Regions from separate parts of the Homo sapiens genome. Here all the other regions are linked to region 1. The links are contacts of gene promoters, found by promoter capture Hi-C in blood cells and fetal thymus (Javierre and others, 2016). All regions are on one chromosome and are shown on one strand. Each heading gives the region's core, a stretch centred on a gene start or on the middle of the fragment in contact. The rest is flanking DNA. Distances are from core to core; before and after follow the strand shown. Region 1 holds the start of STARD6 (StAR related lipid transfer domain containing 6). Region 2 has its middle 120 kb from the start of RAB27B. Region 3 has its middle 84 kb from the start of DYNAP.

The links. The method cuts DNA at HindIII sites, captures the fragments that hold promoters and counts their contacts. A CHiCAGO score of 5 or more calls a contact.
Region 2: a fragment that was not itself captured here is called in contact with the fragment with the promoter of STARD6 in region 1 in 2 of 17 cell types (fetal thymus and total CD4 T cells); the score reaches 6.6 in fetal thymus.
Region 3: a contact is called between a fragment that was not itself captured here and the fragment with the promoter of STARD6 in region 1, in 2 of 17 cell types (M2 macrophages and total CD4 T cells). The highest score is 5.2, in M2 macrophages.

Annotation. Positions count from the first base shown.
Region 1 is chr18:54,355,316-54,360,174 of GRCh38, reverse strand. It overlaps STARD6 (StAR related lipid transfer domain containing 6), which reads left to right and starts at 2,317. Exons shown (of 8, transcript NM_139171.2): 1 at 2,317-2,383; 2 at 3,731-3,814. It overlaps C18orf54 (chromosome 18 open reading frame 54), which reads right to left and starts at 2,269. Exons shown (of 9, transcript NM_001288980.2): 1 at 2,100-2,269; 2 at 1,305-1,401. RefSeq lists enhancers at 1,683-1,752, 1,254-1,765. The HindIII fragment of the contact is 3,120 bases long and covers 335-3,454 here.
Region 2 is chr18:54,710,661-54,715,519 of GRCh38, reverse strand. No RefSeq gene overlaps it. Among named protein-coding and RNA genes, the nearest start is that of RAB27B, 120 kb to the left of the region's middle. RefSeq lists a silencer at 2,888-3,182. The HindIII fragment of the contact is 1,320 bases long and covers 2,011-3,330 here.
Region 3 is chr18:54,673,195-54,678,053 of GRCh38, reverse strand. No RefSeq gene overlaps it. Among named protein-coding and RNA genes, the nearest start is that of DYNAP, 84 kb to the right of the region's middle. The HindIII fragment of the contact is 2,359 bases long and covers 1,040-3,398 here.

The sequences.
Region 1 (4,859 bases), core at 1,068-3,567:
ACAATACCTAATATTCCCCTATACATCATATTTTTCAAATCATAAGCCTACTACCATGTGCTGCAGATAATAGCGCTCAATAAATTTTTTAAAGCCATCAAATGAAGTATTCAAAACAAGAACAATGGAGAATATTCACTTTCAATGTTATAAATGCTAGTACATTTACAACATTTAACTGTAAATAAACTGCAGGTCTTATTCTGGAATGAGTTAGCAATATACACTTTTCCTAAAATAGTTAATCATTTCCTGACCTTCGTTTTTGGTACCACCCTCCCTATTTTCAATTCTTATGTTAAATGGATTCAGCTCACCTCTTTCAAAGGAAGCTTAAATAATGTGAAAATCAACTCAATGTGTTCTTCTGTTTTTCCATTATTAAAATTGAGAGAATCCCTGTCTACCTCAGTACAGTAACAGGATGTATATTTGAAAACCTAAGAAATCACAGAACGAACCGGCACTAATTCAGTCCATGATGACATTCTTTTTAAAATTAAATGAATGGATTTCCTATACTAAAAAAGTATTAATGTTGAGGACTTAACATATGCTATGATGTTATAATGTTTAATTTTTGGCTATAATTTTAGAAATATTTGTTATAACAACTTTTAATGTAATCTTAGTAACTATTAAATTTGGCTTTAAAACATCGAAAGTTTTCTAATTAAATAAGAGACAAAGTAAAACATCATCCTACCACAGCGTTAGAGCATGCAATGGCCATTACAAGAGATCTGACCGTGGTCAGTGCAAATGGCAGAACATAAGGTAACAGTTGTTTCGTCTCATTGATTTATCTGAATTCTGTAATACTGGTATATCTCTGACGAATGGCTAAACTAAGCCAGCTTTACCTTTTTCGTATCCCTTTTATTTAAAGAAGTTTAAACTCACTCAAGTAAATTTGTTTGGATAAGCCTGACCAAATGTTTTCTGTCTTTGAATGCCGAACAGGCTACTGATTTTATTTTACAAAACCTTGAAAGAGAAAGCTGTTGTATTGGTCTCCGTAAGTGGGTGATAACATTTACTAGTTATTTCAACTCACAGGACAGACAAAAAGAAAATGCACAATTTAAGTTTCATTATGAAAAGTTTTCCAACTTTTCCCCAAAAGAGTATACAAAAGTAGAATCGTTCAATAAACCCCTATGTACTCATCATCCTGCTTCCAACAATCGCTGAACAGACCCCAATTGTAGCTAAAGTGGGTAGGGACCCACCCACTTCTCCCCACTTCAGCCACAGGATTATTTTGAACCCCACATATCTCATGCAAATCCCATATATCTTACCATTTCCTCCGTACAGGCTTCAGTTCGAATCTCCAAAAGAAAATCCATCACGCGGAAGAACAGAATGTTAAACTTATTGACAACAAATTTTAACTAACTTTGATTCAAAAACAGAATGTTCAGTGTTAAATAGCCAATGGGAATATCGCACAGGAAATTAAGAACAACTCTTGGAAATAGCTCTGTGACTGCTAAGTTAGGAAAGGGAACGTTTGTTTACTCGGCAGCAGAAAACCAGGAACCCACCGACCGGCCAGCGAAGGTCGCCCGTCTCCAGCAGTGCGCATCGTTCCCCTACCCCGGGCGCCCTGAATTCCAATTTTTCCAGTCCCAATCAGGCGACACCCTCCCTTTGGTGTTCCACCGCCCGTCAGTCACAGACACAGACAAGTTCTTCAGTGAGATGCTTTTCACTCCGAAACCATTTATTCAGCAGCCAGGGCGAGCGCAGCAATGGACTGAAGGAGAAGTGTTCCGAAGCGACAGCCCCAGAGCGCAAGCCCCTTCCTGTCGCCGCCTCAGGTCCGCAGACGCCCGTGTGAGCCCCCTCCGCCGCGTCCCGCGACCCTCCCTCGCCCAGGGGGCACTCCCCCTACAGTGTTCTTCCTTCCACAGAGACTCCACAAGCGCCCTCCCTCAGGAGACGTCTCCTCCTCTTTCCTCGCCACTCTCCTTTCGCCTTTTCTCGGCTGTCACAGGATGGGACAACCCTCGAAAAGACACCCTCCTTTCCGTCCTAACTCACCCCTAAGGCCCCAAAATAAAAATAAAGGAAAACAAAAACAAAAACCGCACACTTCCACAGCTCTCCGCCGAAAGCTCAGGCCTGTTACCCAACGCGAGACACCACAAAGCATCCCCAACCCGGACACCGCCCCGCCTCAGGCTCGGCTCACTCGCAGCTTCCTCCGCAGTCACAGCAGAGCTCGACACCCGCGCTCGCTTTCAAACCGCCCCAACATGGCGCCGGCCTGCGGTGCGCATGCGCGGCAGTGGGGCGCCGGGCGCGAGCGGAGATGAGGGAGCGGCCGGAGAAGAGAGGATGCTGTTGAGCGTTAGGTCGCGACCCCTGCTGGAAGGTGCTGTTTCTCCCTCCTTTCTGGGGCTGGGAATGGGGGGATGTGGGCTGCATCCAAGTCGCTGCCCCCCACGCCCTTCCAACCTCCGTCACAGCTATTCTCGGCCAGTTTGCGCGGGGACTTGCTGATCTCCCTTCAGCCGGCCCCGGGGTCTGCGGGAGGGGACTGGGTGGGGAGGGAGACTTAAGGGCGCTGGCGGCTGTCGTTCCGGTCGCTGAGAGTCTGCCCCACAGCTCCAGTTTTTCCAAGTGAGTTCAGCCTCCCCGCTTCCAGAGCATCCCCCGCCAAAAATAAGATATCGTCTCAGCTAGTAGGCAGTCCCCCCTCACCACTTCTTTCACTCCCTCTTCAGTGCCTTTCCTCTCACACCCCGGAGCCTCTCACACACAAAGCAGATGGGAGATTGGAGACCCGAGTTTAGCCAGGGATGGGATTTAACAAACTCCTAGGAAGCCTTGATTCCCAGGGAAGAATGGCAGTGACCCCGCACGGATTGGGGACCCAGTCAGGCAGCTCAGAAAGAGGGTCATTGTACAAACAGATGTAAAGACTCACTAACATGTGTGAACCTGTCTGTAAGTCTGGAAGGAATCCAGTTTCAACCAATTGGTGTATCAAAAAAAGAGGCCATCCCAATGTTGGTTTATGTTTATTTTCCACTGACCCTATGAGTGAAGATATCCTTGACCATGAGTCCATCTGAATATGTTCCAGCTCATCCGACGTTCCACCACCATGTAATACAATTGTAGTCTTACTGTTTGCACTTTCTTCTTTTTACCCTTTGTAGCCTACTAAATTTTACCTTCCCTTTTCTCTTAGCAAATGAAAAAGTCCGGAAGCTATAACGTTCAGTTTAGTGGTTAAACACAGGTCTATTGTGGCAGTAATAGTTGGTGATTTGAAAATAAGACATACCCTGCTAGTGGTATGTCCCAATAATCTTCAAAGTCTCTAGATCAATTAATATCAAGTAGGTTTCCAATAGGAAATCAAGAACGGTGTTTTATATGCTAAGACGAGCCCTGGTCGGGGATTAACAATCCTTGTTAATTGTTAGTGACGTAAGCTTAAAAACTTAAATTTTTGTATCCACGTTCCACCTAAGTGTCTTTTTAAACTGAGTTCCTTTAAAATAGTTTCTTAAAGATTCTTTTTATAAACAGTATCTTTTAAAGTTTTTTGTACTATATTTTTCTTTCATCTTGGGGCATATATGTAGCAAATGTTTCCTAATGAAGACAAAGTATAGATAAAGGACACTGAGAAGATATAAAGAAAATTATCAAATATATTGACCTAATTCATGGATCAAAATAATTCTACTTCTGCCTTGTTTCCTCACAGGTTAAGAGATATGGAGATTTCCACAAGGATTTGGAGAGGAGCCCCAGTAGTTACTAAAATTCTGCATTAGATCTGTCAGGAAAGGTAAAGAAACCAGGACTCTGCTAGGAAAGAGGAGGTTATAATAATGGTTTACTAAAACTTTTCAAATATAGAGACTATCAACTACCTGTTGTGCCTTGCTGGAGAATTAAATAAGAGAAAATAGATTTATGATCCAACCTGAAGAGTTTTAAGTGAGAGCTAAGGAAGAAATGTTCCAATAATTAAACTTTAAGAAGGTTTATTTAAGTGCTTAAGGAAGCAGATCTTTGGAGAGTTTTTTAAATGATGGATTTATATGTGTCCATTTTTTTAAAGAGAAACTAACTATTTTGATAACCTAGTATAGGGCTCCACACTGTTTAAAGCATTTTTACATATATTAACTCAACTAATCCTTATAATGATTCGGTGAGATAGATATTATTATCCCCATTCTATAGATATGGAAGTTGAAGTTCAAAGGTTAAGCAATTTATCCAAAATAATATAGCTGTACTAAGTGACAAAGTCAGGATTTGAATCCAGTTCTGTTTTCACCTTACCTGCCAGCTTCCCCTAACTGAAAGCTGGATGATGACCCGAAGGACCAGTGAGACTGCAGCTTCCGGAACTCATTCACAGCAGTAATAGTTATGTCTAGTATCTTACTCAACTGTTGTTGCTACATCTACCACAGTGCCTGTCTCAGTCCTTTTGGGCTGCCATAAGAAATTACCAAAGACTGAATGACTTGTAAACAATAAATTTATTTCTCAGAGTTCTGGATCCTGGAAGTCTGAGATCTGGGTGCCAGCATGGTTAGGTTCTGGTGAGGGCCCTCTTCTGGTTGCAGACTGCTAACTTCTGGCAGTGTCCTCACATGGAAGAAGGGGCCATTGAGCTCCCTGGGGTCTCTTTTGTGAGGGCACTAATCCCATTCATAAGGGCTTTGCCCTCATGACCTAATCATCTCCTAATATCACCCTGGGAGTTAGGATTTCAACATATGAATTTTAGGGAGACATAAACATTCAGTCCATTGCAGTTTCTAACTTCAAGCAGGGTTCAATGTGTTTAAATTGAGTTGATTTAAACTTGATCCTAT
Region 2 (4,859 bases), core at 1,421-3,920, 350 kb before region 1:
GACTAGGGAGCCATGTTGATGACTAGAGTCAGGTGAACCCAGAGTGATTAGTGATCAATGAAAGAATGCCTCGTTGAGGCCTGAGGATTGTGGTTTGCTTATCCACTGCACTTCTTTCCACTTCTTCCTAATTCAGCATGTTTTCTGAAATGAGACTTTTTTTATTTTTAAAGAAGTTGATCAGCACCAAAGGACACTAATGTACCCTCAATTAGATCCTTGTTATTACAAAGTGGTGAATGGGCTGGACTGCAGAAGGGGAGTGGCTAGTGTGTGAGGGAGGCAATGCCCCACCATTAAGCATTTCTCTGTAGCTACTGATTTTTATAATATTGGAGAGCTCCCTGAGAAACAAAGCACTATGTCCATGATTGGGCCTCAGACATACACTGACATGTCATCTGTGCAATGACTCCAGGTGGAGAGAAGAAAAGTGAGGCTGCTGAGAGACATGTCACCATAAATCAGAAGGATCCCAGCTTGAGGAAACAGACCTCACCACAGGACCTGCGGGTAGAGGGGAGTGGTGGGTCTTTGTAGATCTTTGTGACTGAGATGGACATGATTGTAATAGAAAAAGACTCCATACAAACTGAAAACCCTAAGATACTGCAATAGACTGAATATTTGTGTCCCCCCAGAATTCATATGTTGGGATTCTAACCCTTAATGTGATGGTTTCAGAATGTGGGGGTCATTGAGAGATTAGGTCATGAGGGTAGAGCGCTAATGGGTGGGATTAGTGTTCTTATCAAAGAGACTCGCAAGAGCTCTCTCACCCACTTTCTGCTATGTGAGGATCGAAAGGGAAGTGGGCAGCCTACAACTCAGAAGAGAACCCTCAGCAGAACCTGACTGTGCTGGCACTCTGATCTTGGACTTCCAGCCTCCAGAACTGTGAAAAGAAAATTTATGTTGTTTATAAACCACCCAGTCTACACTTTGTTACAGAAGCCTGAATTGACTAAGATAGATAGCTCATAAACTCTGTAGTATTTTGGCCCTGAGAAAACTTGAAATGTGTGGGTGCTGTTATCCTCTTCCCTTTCAGTCTGCTTGGCTCACACAGGTGTGTTGAGATTCAGTGCCTGGAAGAATCACTGGGGACCCCCATCAGGTCAGGAACTGCTGGTTCTGCAGGGACAGCTGTGTCACAGTGCCCAGGTTTGTAAAGGGGGGTGCTGGTATCACAGATCTTGGGCTCAACTTGCCAAAAGCCAATGGTGACTATAAGAACAGTGTGACTTGGACCAGTCTGTGGCTTTTCAAGATGACTGTGCAGTGAAGGACATTGTAAGGAGCTGGAATTCATGGATGAGCCGGTGAAGGGGGGCTCAGATCCTGTGGGATTGGTTATCAATTATATGTGACCTTATGTGTACTCACGTGCTAGTGAATTGTGGCAGTCAGGTGCCATATGCAAATGTATCTGTTATAGAATAGAGTGGGATAATCACTGACTTTGGGACTACAGACCTGGATTTAAATCTGACACTTTGTGCTTCCATATAGTTTAATAAGTAGTACTTCATAGGCTTCTTGTGATGACCCCATGTCAACTACATTTAAAGGCCTAGCACAGAATAGCTCCCCATTACAAAAAGAAAACCTGCCGGGCACGGCGGCTCACGCCCGTAATCTCAGCACTCTGGGAGGCCGAAGTAGCTGGATCACCTGAGGTCAGGAGTTCAAGACCAGCCTGGCCAATATGGTGAAACCCCATCTCTACTAAAAATTCAAAATTGGCCGGGCGTGGTGGCACATGCCTGTAATCCCAGTTACTCGGGAGGCCAAGGAAGGAGAATCACTTGAACCCGGAAGACAGAGGTTGCAGTGAGCTAAGATCATGCCATAGCACTCCAGCCTAGGCAACAAGAAGAAAACTCCATCTCAAAACAAAAAAAAAAGTGTTTCTTTTTAGAAAAGGAAACCACTATATTTAGTAGCATAAAGCCAAAGGCTGCCACTCTGGAGATGTGCAGCATTGATAACAGCAATGACTTTCAAGCTTCTTTCACTTTGAAACTTTACAAAGTGAATCTCAGTTTCTTCATAAGTATAATCCAGTAATAATACCTCTGCAAAGAGTTTGTTTAGGATTAGATAGGATCATACATGCAGAGTGCTTAGCATGAATATTCTATACGTGGATCAAGGAATGGTTAAATAAATTGTGGTGGTTATTAAAATAAAACAGAACCTCTACCTCTTCAAGGTGATACAGGAGGAGGGTAGAGAAATGCTGGGTAGAGAAAGGCAGGTCCCTGGCTAGGGCCCTAGCCCCACAGACCTAGGTGAGGACAGGCACTTCTGCCTTTGTGCCCAAATGTTGCATTTTCCAAGACCACCCTGGCCCACCACACCCCTCTCTTGGGCCTATAAAAAGCTGAGACCCTAGCAAGGCAGAGATGAAAGCTGCTGGAGGGCGAGAGGAAAACATCAGTGGAAGAAGACAAGCTGCTGGACATCAAGAGGACACGGAGGGAGCATGCCGGCAGAAGAGCACACCAACAAACGCTGGCACACTGGCAGGCCATCCACCTGCAGGAGAGGCGGAGTTTGGCATGTGCCTGAGCGGCCCAACTCCAGGGGAAAACCGTCTCCCTTCTGGCTCATCCAGCAGTGAAGAGCTATTTCCACTCAATAAAACTTGGCACTCATTCTCCAAGCCCACCTGTGATCCGATTCTTCTGGTACACCAAGGCAAGAACCCAGGATACAGAATGCCCTCTGTCCTTGTGACAAGGTGTAGAGTCTAATTGAGCTGGTTAACATAAGCTGCCTATAGACAGCAAACCAAGAGAGCACCCTGTAACACAAACCCACTGGGGCTTCAGGAGCTATAAACATTCATGCCTAGACACTGCAGTGAGGTTGGAGCCCCACAGCCTGCCTGTCTCTGGGCTCCCCTAGAGTTTTGAGCAGCAGGCACTGAAGAAGCGAGCCACACCCCCATCACACACCCTGCTAGGGGAACAAGGGAACATTTCCCGTTTCAAAGGCATATAAAATGTGAATCATGTGCTTTCTGGATTCATGTAGTAAGAGAAATTTTCTGTCTCAAAACAAGTGTGTCATGCTTTTCATGACCTGGGGTGATCAAATGCTTAGAATAATAACACCAAGTAACATGACTCATCTAAGAAAAAGATATGAGATGAAACTATACTACATTATACTACATTGCAAATGCATTTCTTACCAGCCCCACCGTTCTTTTAAATATTTGAATTCCACAATATATTCAACATCTTGTGTGACTATGTTATTTGTATCAACACTGAGAATAATTCATATTTGTAGATAGAGTAAAGCTCTTTTAAAGAAGCTTCAATAAATCATCATTGCCATCACTTTTGCCTCACCCCCAGTCCCAATGCTCCTCATTTTAACCGACTTACTCCAATCTACTCAACAAAACATGCTGACTGATGTCCACACATGTAGAAGGCTAGTGTTTACTCCCAAGCATGTCCGTGTTCTTCCACTCTATTTGAGTTACACGTAAACCAAGATTCATTAGCGTATAGTACCAAAGCTGTTAGTGTTGGATGTATTTTTAGTGTAACTATATAATTGAATTGAAAGGTGTTTATACTGATAAGATATGAGTGCAAAAGAGAGTTACTATTTCTAAGAAAAATAAATGTAATGCTTTGTAACAACTAGATAAAGATGATTCGCTAAAATAAATTGTTGCCAAATCAGCTATGGGCCCAAAATATTCTAGAGGATTGAAAGTAAATTTTGTGACATGGTGGCTCATGCCTGTAATCCCAGCACTTTGGGAGGTTCAGACAGGTGGATCACTTGAGGTCACGAGTTCGAGACCAGCCTGGCCAATATGGCGAAACCCTGTCTCTACTAAAAATACAAAAATTAGCTAGATGTGGTGGTGCACACCTGTAATACCAGCTACTTGGAAGGCTGAGGCACAAGAACTACTTGAACCTGGGAGGTGGAGGTTGCAGTGAGCCAAGATTGCATCACTGCACTCCAGCGAGAGTGAAACTGTGTCTGAAAACAAACAAACAAAAATAATAGAGAATTATGTATTCAGATGGCTTTGCAAGGGTTTTGTGTTCTTGCTCCACTTAACAGAACTAAAACTAGAAATTATAGACACTTGATACTCATACACACTCAAAGGAAAGAACTTGTCCTCATTGTAAAAGAGTGACAAATAAGTTAACATTTATCTATTTTAAGTTGAGGTAAAAGATTTAAAGTGTATGTCTTATGCTTTCTAATGTAACTAGCATTTTTTTAAAATGACCAAGGTGGTATCCTCATCACATCAGACTTCCCTTGTAATACATCATATGCTTTGTTTGGATATAACTTCGGTAGCCTTCCTGTCCTGAACCAAATTAAACATTTATAATGGCACAAGGAAAGGACTTAACATGGACTTTGCCTCACTATATGTAATATAAATTAAAGCAGTGTCATCTAATATAAATGCTTTTAAACACATAGCGTAGAGCACCTTTGCCAATAGGCTAAGTAGAGTCCAGGAAATGTACATAGACAGGAGAGCTCTACACAAAAATTCCTAACCAGACTGAAGGAGTCATACCCAGTTTGTCTGTATATTTAATGGCATGCAAGGTATGCTCTACCAAGGAAAGGTCACCTTGAGAATATCTTGAAAACACATTCTCTAAAGTCTATGAAAATGAAGACCAAAAAATGGCCACAAATAATCTCATCAGTTGCCATCAGTGACTTTTTCATTATTTACATAACAAAGCCCCATTTTGAGGAACTTCATCATCATCATCATCATCATCATCATCATCATCATCATAATATAGCTTTTAGTTGTCATAAAAACATGATGGAAAATGAATATGGTT
Region 3 (4,859 bases), core at 970-3,469, 320 kb before region 1:
TCATCCCTTCTAAATGCAGTCTATATTTACCCAGATTTGGATCTCCCCTCATTTTCCTTTTGAGAGGACAGGGTTCTTTGACACAAAGCGTTAAGCAGAGGTTATGATCTTTCTACGGAGGGTCTTTCTCCATTTCTCGCAGCTCTGCTATGAGCCTCTATCTCTTTTATCATCTATCATCTCCTATACAGTTTTCCTCTAAATCCAGAAAGTAGATGGACAGTCTTCTCTTCTCACAATGCCACAATTAATTCTTCCTCTTGCCTCTGGAGTCATTCAACAAGTAGGACATAGAGTGCCTCACATATCTCAAGACCTCTGCTACACATTTAACAGACGTGAGTCAGCAAAACAGACATGAGCCCTGTCCTCATAAAACTTATAGTTAATGTTGTATATATTTCTATTTCTTTTTTTTTTTTTTTAACCGAGTTTCGCTCTGTCACCCAGGCTGGAGTGCAGTGGCGCAATCTTGGCTCACTGTGACCTCCGCCTCCCAGGTTCAAGCAATTCTCCTGTCTCAGCCCACCGAGTAGCTGGGGTTACAGGTACGTGCCACCATGCCTGGCTAATTTTTGTATTTTTAGTATAGTCGAGGTTTCACCATGTCGGCCAGGCTGGTCTCGAACTCCTGACCTCATGATCTGCCTGCCTCTGCCTCCCAGAGTGCTGGGATTACAGACATGAGCCACCACACCAGGCCTATATTTTTTGATTAAAAGAATGTATGAGGCCAGGTACGGTGGCTCATGCCTGTAATCCCAGCACTTTGGGATACCAAGGTGGGTGGATCACTTGAGGTCAGGAGTTTGAGACCAGCATGGCCAACATAGTGAAACTCTGTCTCTACTAAAAATACAAAAAATTAGTTGGGCATGTGGTGCATGCCAGTAGTCCCAGTTACTTGGGAGGGTGAGGCAGGAGAATCACTTGAACCTGGGAGGTGCAGGTTGCAGGTTTCAGTCAGCCAAGATGGACCACTGCACTCCAGCCTGGGAGACAGAGCAAGACTTTGTCTCAAAAAAAAAAAAAAAAAGCTTTCTGTACATTGCTTAGAGGGTGAGGCTGTTGACTGTGGATTTTACCATTAGATGATCAGAAAGAAAACCCCTAGTGTCTGTAACTATGGATCTTTTCTTTTGGGCAACTCAGAAAATTAAACTCTCCTATCCTGGTGTAAGGTATAAGGTATGGATGCAGCTTCCCCCCTCCCCAGATTGCTGTTAAATAGAGATGCTGTTTATTAAGTATAGTTCACATTTTGCTTATTGGTATAAGATCCCATCTTTATTACTGAACTCTTATATTGAGGGGAGGGAATCTCTTTCTAGATTGTATATGCTTTCGCATGGGTCTCTGTCTGCCAGTACCACACTGTTTTAATTATTAGTTCTTGATAGTATGTTTTATTACCTGGTTTATTACTCTTGATTGCTCTACTTTTTCAGAATGTATAAAAAACATTTGGACATTTGACACTTAGAGGAAATAAGGCCCTTTCCCAGAGTAACTCAGATAATAAGTGGCAGAACTGTCATTGGAACCTCTCTCATAATCACCACCTTTCATTGACTGAAATGCCTTTGTTAAAATATCTACTTATCTCCTTTGGAAAAAAATTCAGAGGAAGAGATATTTCTTCCTCTTTCAAATGCCTCAAAACTCAAATTTCCTTTGGGAACCCCTGAGGACCTAGGTCATGTGTCCACTGAGGCTCATGGCCAACTCTCTAGGAATAGCTGGAAGGTGGAGAAACATAGCGGGAAAGAGAGCTCATGTCTCCACATCCAATGAGCAAAGCTAGTAGCAGAGTCTGCTGATACTTTACTTTTTAGTGTATATTTCAGGAAGTGTTCTTACAGGCATGTTCCTTTTCTAGTGGGGTCACAAATACCAAATAGTTATGTCTTCTTAAAAAGTCATTAATTTTCAGAAAATTTGTCTAAACCTAGTAATAAAAATATATCACTTTTATTTCAATTTCTATATATTTAACTATGAGGTCAAGTATCTTACCCTCTGTTTTTATTCATTACATAGACTTCTTCTGTGACAAGCACATCAATGTCCTTTGTTACTCTTTCTTAGTGTGTGCCTATAAAAATCTTATTAATTTGTAAGTACTCATTATATGTAAGCAATATTTAAAATTTTTTTCTATGTGTTGAAAATATTTTTTTCCCGGTTTGTTGTTGACTTTGGTTTATTGTGTCTTTTCCATGTGAAAATGGAAAGACTTTCATGGATTAACATTTACTAATATTTATCTTTATAAGTCTTAGTTTTGGTATGAGAGATACAGTATGCGTGTATAAATAGGAATTCAATTTTGTCTCTAATTTTTAATGAAGTAGCATAACATAATATGCTAGGTGTATTTTTTTAAATTTAGATCTCTCTCAAAATACTTGTTATACACCATATCAGTTAAAGTACTTAGAAACTGCTCATCATATTTCACTTTAGTTCTTTCCTTGAATGTATACCTAGGTGAATTCTGGCAGAGATAAATTTGGGGCAGAGCCTAGGATCTAAAGAATGTGAAAAAAGTTCCCTATGTCCGAAGGGAAAATCAGCAAAAGGTAAAAGCAAACAAAAAAATGAAGTGTAGGAATAGAGGATTTAAAATGTTATCCTCTTTTGCTTTCTCAGATGGCCTTGTTTGTGTGAAGCACAAAAGCAGCCCCTGTGTGTGACTAATGAATCTTCCAAGGCATTCTGGGGACTGTGTTGTCAGCCCTTTTAATGGCCTATTAAGCACAGGATTGAATAGATTAAGCATGCAGCCGTCCAAATTAGACCTTGAGTAATCTGACTGACCATGTTAGGCCTTGTGTGACACAGCATCCCTTAGGCTGATGTTAAGGACTCAGACAAGGTGAGAAAAGTCTGTGCTCTAGAAACACAGTCCTTCCCAGGACAAAATAAGCCAACAAATATGGAAGGCAAAGTTTAGTTGGATGGAGAGTGTCATAGAACAAGTACTTCACTCAAAGCTCAATTCTGCTTGTTAATAACAATGTGACCTTGGACAAGTTATTTTTCTTTTCTTTTTTTTCTTTTTTTTTTTGAGACAGAGTTTCACTCTTTCACCCAGGCTGGATTGCAATGGCACAATCTTGGTTCACTGCAACCTCTGCCTCCCGGGTTCAAGTGATTCATAAATTACCCAGACTCAGGTAGTTCCTTTCAGCAATGAGAGAATGGACTAATACAGGCTCCTTCATGAGCTTCTCTTCCTGTCTCCTTTTCATGTTTCATAATCTCGAGGCCTCGCCATTCTCTTATCCATTCAAAATTACTTTTGAGTGCTTACTTTGTGTAAGACACTATGCCATGGGCTACTAGACTAGTACACTGTTGAATAAAACATGTGTTTTGCTCTTAAAAAAAAAGCTTATAGGTTAATTAGAGAGAAGATAATAAAAGTTAATATTTATTGGGCAATTATTCTGTGCTAGATGCTTAATTCTCATTAATTCCCACAGCTACTCTGAGGGCTACATTCTCTCTTTATCCCCATTTTACAGGTGAGACAAAGTCAGGCAACATGTCCAAAGTCACATAACCTGCAAGTGTCTGAGCAAAGATTCAAACCCAAATATCTATGAATTCAGAGCCCAAGTTTTTTAATCAGACTTAAACACTATGCTATATTAAAAAGTAATTATACTGTGGTATAATATAACTAGAATGTGGTGAATGACATATGAAGTACGAACAGATTTGCATGGACATTTAGAGGAAGGAGTGGCCACTTTTGGCTGCAAGAATCAGAGAAGACATGGTGTAGGAGAGATTGGAGATGTATCTTTAAAAGCCATATTAGTCTATGCTCTGCCAAGATTATTATTATTTTCAGCAGAAATGCTTTCAAGTGAGACTGGGAGCCCATCCAATGACAAACCAACATGAGTAAAACACAGCCTTAGAAGTAAAGAGCCCACTGCTGTGAAATCAATGCTCTTGACTTAGACCTCCAAATGCCAAGCCTAGGAAGTGGAAATTTTCCACAAAGAAGCAAACACTATTTCACCCTTGGCTAACCACGGGCCAATCTGTAAGCGCTTCCAACATTTTAGTTGGGAGGATGAAACTCTGTGTATGCTGGTGTGATAGCCCAGCAACTGTGTGAACAAAGACAAGGATTGCTCTTGGTGCCACCCAAAATAATCTCTTTGAAGCCAGGATTCCCTACAGGTCAGTGGTCCCCAACCTTTTTGGCACCAGGGACCAGTTTCATAGAAGACAAATTTTCCACTGATGGGAGGGTGGTAGGATGGTTTCGGGATGATTCAAGCCCATTACATTTATCATTAGATTCTCATAAGGAGGGTGCAACCTATATCACTCACATGCACAGTTCACAATAGGGTTCACACTCCTATGAGACTCTAATGCCACTACTGATCTGACAGGAGGCAGAGCTGAGCTTTGGTTGCTTAACCGTGGCTCACCTCCTGCTGTGCGGCCCAGTTCCTACCAGGCCATGAACTGTCAGGGGTTGAGGAGTCCTGCTATAGAGCATAGAATTATATTATCTATTTCAGGGAAAGGAGAAAAAGATTTCTGCAGCCTGTGATAGGCTAATATTTTTGTGAACTATGTATCAGAAGATATTTTTTATTAATACCGCTAGAAACAAAACACAGTGCTGCTATTTTTTTTTTTTTGATGAATAAATTTCAAAGTCTAGACAACTGCTAATGGGTATGAAAGGGAACTCATTCCAATCCCACTCCTGTGCCTCCCTGAGCTGTGGTTTTTAGTATCAGCCAAGGTCCACGTCAGGGAGTCATTGCCTTTGAATATCACTGGTTACATTTTGTAGATGTTTTCAGGAGAATCGCTAAAGACTG